Regions from separate parts of the Homo sapiens genome. Here region 1 is linked to region 2. The links are contacts of gene promoters, found by promoter capture Hi-C in blood cells and fetal thymus (Javierre and others, 2016). All regions are on one chromosome and are shown on one strand. Each heading gives the region's core, a stretch centred on a gene start or on the middle of the fragment in contact. The rest is flanking DNA. Distances are from core to core; before and after follow the strand shown.

What was found. The method cuts DNA at HindIII sites, captures the fragments that hold promoters and counts their contacts. A CHiCAGO score of 5 or more calls a contact.
Region 1: a fragment that was not itself captured here is called in contact with the fragment with the promoter of HEY2 in region 2 in 1 of 17 cell types (total B cells); the score reaches 5.0 in total B cells.

What each region holds. Positions count from the first base shown.
Region 1 is chr6:122,395,888-122,398,908 of GRCh38, forward strand. No RefSeq gene overlaps it. Among named protein-coding and RNA genes, the nearest start is that of HSF2, 2.3 kb to the right of the region's middle. The HindIII fragment of the contact is 1,681 bases long and covers 607-2,287 here.
Region 2 is chr6:125,747,944-125,751,041 of GRCh38, forward strand. HEY2 (hes related family bHLH transcription factor with YRPW motif 2) reads left to right here and starts at 1,689. Exons shown (of 5, transcript NM_012259.3): 1 at 1,689-1,916. The coding sequence starts at 1,834. It overlaps HEY2-AS1 (HEY2 antisense RNA 1), which reads right to left and starts at 1,482. Exons shown (of 5, transcript NR_183491.1): 1 at 1,016-1,482. RefSeq lists silencers at 1-23, 1,198-1,907. The HindIII fragment of the contact is 5,509 bases long and covers 1-3,098 here.

The DNA of each region.
Region 1 (3,021 bases), core at 197-2,696, 3.4 Mb before region 2:
ACAATTTCTTTGATCTTCAAAACCACCCTGTGAAGTGAGCATAGCAGATATTTTTCACTCACATCTTATATATAAGGAACGAGGACTAGAAAATGTTAGGTGATTTGCCTAAGGTCCCCTAAGTCATTCCAAAATTGAAGAAAATCAACACTTTGTCCAGATAGCAATATAGGTGGAAACCTCTATGCAGTTCACCTTTGGATTTAATCATCCTATCCTTGAAAAAAAAATCTTTAAAAGCTAATACTGGTTGCACCGTTGATTCCAATTAGTTTTGCAAAATCGATTGGATAGAATTTATGGCATCGTCTGATGATTTGAAGCATCAAATTGCTCCATAATATGCTTTTCTATTTCCTAGACAAAGGTCTGGATCATTCATATTTTTGAATGTTATTCTAAATCTAAGTCTTACATTCTAGGCTGCAAATGAACCATGAAAATAATCCAGCTTTTTAAACTGGAGTTAACAGGAGGCAACTCCTTTAAGAAAGTGACATTTTTATCTTCTTGTGTTATAAACATGTCAAAATTGTCGACACTGGCGCAAATCTGTTTCTTCTGATATTTTAGGGATATTATAGGTGGCAAATAATTGTGAGATAAAGCTTGATTTTGTTTTCTTCCCCTCTCAGTTTTATAAATAAGTGCAAACAAGCCAAGTTATAATTTCCTTTTCCCCAAAAAAAGTCTGCATTCAATACTTAGTTTTTCAGAAAATGTACTAATTATAATAAATATTAACGATTATAAGTTCATAGAAAAACAAAACATAGTCGTTTAAGTTATTCCTGGAACATCTGGATTTTATTAAGAGATGAAGGGTGGCCAGGTGCAGTTGCTCACACCTGTAATCTTATTACTTTGGGAGGCCAAGGTGGCAGATCACTTGAGCTCAGGAGTTCAAGACCAGCCTGGCCAACATCGTGAAACCCCATCTCTTCTAAGAATACAAAAATTAGTGAGGTTTCGTGGTGCAGACCTGTAATCCCAGCTACTCAGGAGGCTGAAGCAGAATTGCTTGAACCCGGGAGGCAGAGTTTGCAGTGAGCCAAGATCACACCACTGCACTCCAGCCTGCCAGCCTGGATGACAGAGTAAGTCTCTGTCAAAAAAAAAAAAAAAAAAAAAACAGACAGAAGTAAAGCATAACAATAAATCTGTACATCTTAGTAGTAAGGGAAGCTCAGTTTACTAATTTTTCCTCTATAACAGCAATTCTCAAAATGCGGTCCCAGGGCCAGTAGCATCTGCGTCATCTGGGACTTGTTAAAAATAAAAATTCTTAACCTGTACCCCAGACTTACTGAGAGCCATGGAAGCAAAAGCAGCAATTTGTTCTTTAAGAAGCTGTCCAGGTGATTCTGCGCTAAAGTTTGAGACACATTGGTGTAAATTTAAAAAGCATGTTTCAGACTACGAAAGACCTGGTTTCAATTCCAACCTTAACTAGATGATTTTGGATACATCATCTAAGTTTTCTGGTGCCAAGGTTTTCTTATCTGGTTAATAACTTATCCTTGTCACTGCCCTTATAAGTATTACAAATACTACCTGATAAGTGATATTGCTCATTTGCTTACTGGAAGGCTTCCCTCTCCAAGTGATTCAGACGCATGCTTAAGTTTGAGAACCATTTGTTTCAAACTTACGGTCTATAAGATGCCATACATTGGAAACAGAATCAGCTACACAATTTGCAAGATCCATTGCAAAATGAAAATGTACAGTCCCTTGTTCAAAAACTGAGAATTTCAAGAGGATGAGAACAGAGCATTAAACTAAGTATGGCACCCCACTAAGCCCAGCCCTATGAATGCCCAGCCTTTGAATGTCCAAAGACAAGTTTCTGCTTCTATCTAATCACACCTTCTTTTTTTAGAAGAAAATAATATAATGCCATGAAAGTAGGCCACATTTCCTCCTTAGACACTGCCATTCTTACCTCCTGAGCTGTTGCCCTCCATAGACAGACATGATCATTAGCTTCCTGGTTTTTGCTCATTCTGTTGTCTTCCTTTTAGCTATTCAAATATATTTGTACCTCAAGACCCAACTTAAGGTCCCTATCTGCCATGAAATCCTTCCTTACCACCTTAACCTACTAATCTGTCTTTTTAAACTTATCTAGTACTTATTTTATACAAAACATTTAGCTCTTTTTGTATATATTGAGTGCTGATCACTGTGGTCATATTGTTTCTTGAGTTTGAATATAAGCATCTTGAGCTTTGAAACAGTGTCATCATTGTACAATGGAAAGGGCACATACTTTTGAGCTCAATAAAGCTTGGGTGTAAATACTCTCCCATTTACTTGCTGTGACTGAAGAAATTAATCAACTTTTGAGTCTCAGAATCTTCTCTGGGAAAATGGGATAATAAAACCTAGTTCATTGGGTTGTTGTGAGGATTCAATAATATATGTAAAGCCCTTGGCATATATAAGGGCTCATCAAATATTACTTCCTCTATCACATGCATGCCTCCATATATCTGATTTTGCTTCAGCCAACATCCCAGTGCTGAGCACAAAGGCAGCATTCACTAAATACTTGCTCATTGGAAGAGATATACATATATCTTCCATTAAATGATAGATATATATTTAATGTACTATTTTACATTCACCCAAGAAGTAAACCAATCCTATGTTGAAGTTTTGTATGTTATCTCTGACTTGTTTGTAAGTTTTTGCCTTCACATGCTGACTTTTGTAAAAAAAAAAAGTCGAATTTTGTAGACTTCATATTTTCAAAGCATTTGCACAGCCATTATAGTATTAAAGACACTCTTAGTGGGTAAAAAGATAGATCTTATTCCCAGTCAAGAAATGGAAAAAACTGGCACTGGTGGCTAAGGAATTGTTCTAAATGACAGAACCAGTGTATTTTAATATACAGAAAAATGTCCAAGAGGCTTTATCTAAACTGAGATCTACTGACTCCTTTTCCATTGTTTTTTCCACTATACCAATCTCTTAGGCAAAAAAGACTATATCTGTAAAGTATACGCAGGAAAA
Region 2 (3,098 bases), core at 439-2,938:
GGGCGCGGACCCCATCCAGCCCCACCTGGCCCCGCCGAGTGTGTGCTTTGCCTGGGGTTAAGTTTCAGAAGCCAAGATGGAACGATTCGGGTTTCTATTCACAAGGTTATTGAAGGCATGGCGGTGGGGACCGCGCAAAAGAGATGAGAGTGTGGGGGGAAAGGGGTTTCTGTTCTAATAAGGGCTTAGCACGCTGGCCGCAGGTCCTCCGCGCCGACCGGGCTCCTTCCCGCTCTCCCCCGGGCCAAACCCCGCCAGGGTCCCGTCTTTCCCAGTCGCGTCCTTTCCTCTTCTCCCCGCCCCGCGCCGGGCTTGTGTGGACAGAGAACGGAGTGTCAAAGGGACGCCCTGGGCCGATCCCCAGGAAGCTATGAATCCCTCCGTGACGGAGGGGTCTGGGGATCGATAGACGGCCCTTTCTCAGAGGCTCTCTCCACTACTGACCAAGCGGCCCTGCCAACGTGTGGTTTCCGGCTGGACCCCAACCCAGCCGCCGCCAGTCTCCCGGCGCCCCTGGCTGGGTCTCGCTCAGTCCCTGCCCTCGCAGACGCACAGCGGGGTGGCCAGTTCAAAAGTCCTACATAACTTGGAGAGAACCAGCAGCTAGAAAACCTGTTTTAAACACACAGCTTGAGTTTTATACAACCCACGTTGTCCAAGGCACGAACTGTTGGACACGAATTCATACTTTAGAAACCAAATCTAATTTCCAAGCGCCAATCTTCACCTCCCGGACTCTAACTCTGCGGCTGCGAGTGCATACACCAGGGGGACTGGAGGAGACTGGAGGCAATTATCTGGATAATCCAAGCCCGAAAAACTCGAACTTGAAAATATACGATTATGTCCTGAAATGCCCGCGTCATTGATCTAGTCTTTCCTACCATCAGAGCTGACACAGCTCCAGTCCACGGGCTTCTCCGCGGGGTCTAGGATCCACAGTCCCTGGGGGCTGAAGACCCAATGGAAGTAACTGATGGATCGCAAATTGGAAATCGTAACGTGGCCGACAGACCTGATCAGGAAAACTCGCGTCCTTATATGAAACAGCCCCGAGGCCGCGAAAGTAGCCTCAGGAGTTGTCAGATTCAAAAGCAATTTTGATTTAAGGTTTTCAAAAGCCCCAGAGGGCAAATGTGACCACTCGGGTCAGCCAGTCAGCAGTTTGGATCCAGACAGGGGACCACCGAGTGGGGCGGCCGAGGAGCCGCGGCGCCTCCCGACGTCACACGCGCCTGCTCGCACTTAGCCACGCGCTTGGGGTTATTCTTTACACTCAGGACTGAAACTTCGCCCGCGAGACCGCGGGGCGCGGAGGAGGGCCGAAACCCAAGGTCCAGGTCCAGGGCCCGCCCCCGCGCGCCCGCGTTGGCGCCCGCGCGCTCCCTCCGCAGGGGTTAGCAAGATTGCGCTCATTCTCGCCCCGGCTGCTCCCCACCCGCTCGCTGCTCTGGGGTACCAGGTCCGCGGCCGCGTTCCCACGCCTCGGCTGGAGCCTTGCGGCGGGCATTGGCGAGCGCGGCCCCGCCCCCTGGCCCAGCCAATCGCGAGCCACGCCGACCAGCGAGGGGGAGGTGCCGGGCGGAAGGCCTGGGCCGGTGCGCGGGGGCGGGTGAGGTGGCCCCACCCGCTCGAGGGGGGGGCGTGGCCGGCGCCGGCTCTTGCGGCCGAGCAGAGTTGCGGCGTGGGAAAGAGCCGCTAGGAGCAGACCGCGCCGCCGCCGGAGCCGCGCCTGCCCAGGCCCGGGGAGGGAGGAGGCGGGCGTCAGGGTGCTGCGCCCCGCTCGGCGTCCGAGCTTCCGGCCGGGCTGTGCCCCGCGCGGTCTTCGCCGGGATGAAGCGCCCCTGCGAGGAGACGACCTCCGAGAGCGACATGGACGAGACCATCGACGTGGGGAGCGAGAACAATTACTCGGGGTGAGCGCGGGCTCCGCGGGAGCGGCCCGCAGCTCGGGAGCTTGGGGTAGCTTTGTGAATGCGTGGCTCCCTGGAAATCCCGAGGCTGGTCTCCGCAGCATCTAGGTAGAGAGGGAAAGTTTGGCCTGAGAAAGTTTGAGTGGTGGGCGCTCGCAGAGCGTGAGTTGGGATGGGGCAAGGGATGTGGATTTTCACCGTAGGGGTGGAGTAGCCAGGATGGGAGACGCCACTGAAAGGCAGAGCGCAGGAGTTGGCGAGGGAGGGTCCTGGCTGTCACAGTTGGACGCGCGAACGGCAGCGTCTGGGCGACAGGCGATGTCCCAGCCACTGAAACCGTATTTGGGGGCACTTTCAAAATAGATCAGGAGAAAATAAAAACAATTTGATTTTTGATTTTTAGAGATACCAAAATCACAACTTGATTTTTGGAGGAATTAAAGCAACCTGCGATGTCAAGGCTACGTAGGTTGAACTTTGCAGGTTGACCGTGTGTGACTTGGCTAACGCAAGAGTGAGTGACAGATGTAAGCATCGGAAAGGGCATCATTTCTTTGACTGCTTGTTCTCAAGTCTGGAAGAGATCGGCGTCGTAATCACAGAAGCCAGACCTCCACTTTCCTGTGACAGAGGGAGATTACCGAGGCATTTTAGAGCCAAGGCGGGTCAAATGATAATTGCTTCTAATTGGCATCCCCAGAAGCACCTTAATTATTTATCTGCAGCTGTCACTCAAAGAGGGAAATTCTTCCTACCTTTGGAAAACTGGTTTTCTTTCATATTGTTATTCTAATACATACAAAGCAAAGCACAAAATCTGCAAGAGCAAAGATATTTACACGAAAGCAAAGGTTTAAGTATCTGATCATTAAAGTGTTGTTGTGCCGTCTTTAAAAATGAGGTCTGAAAAACAGAAGCTATCACGTGAAAGGTGAAACCCGTAAAGAAGGGGTGAAAATGAGGGGGACAGGTAATTCAGAAATAAGATCCAGAAGTGAGAAGGTGAGGTAATAGCAACCTGGTGTGTGCAGCATTTCTAAAATGAAAGAGAACAAATAACAGGAACCTGGGGAATTTGAGAACACAAAGAAGCATAGTATCCATGAATTATGAAGAGAAACAGATACAAACTAGAAAGGATTGTAAAAATTATGTGACCAAATAATACTTTGATTGAACCTTCAA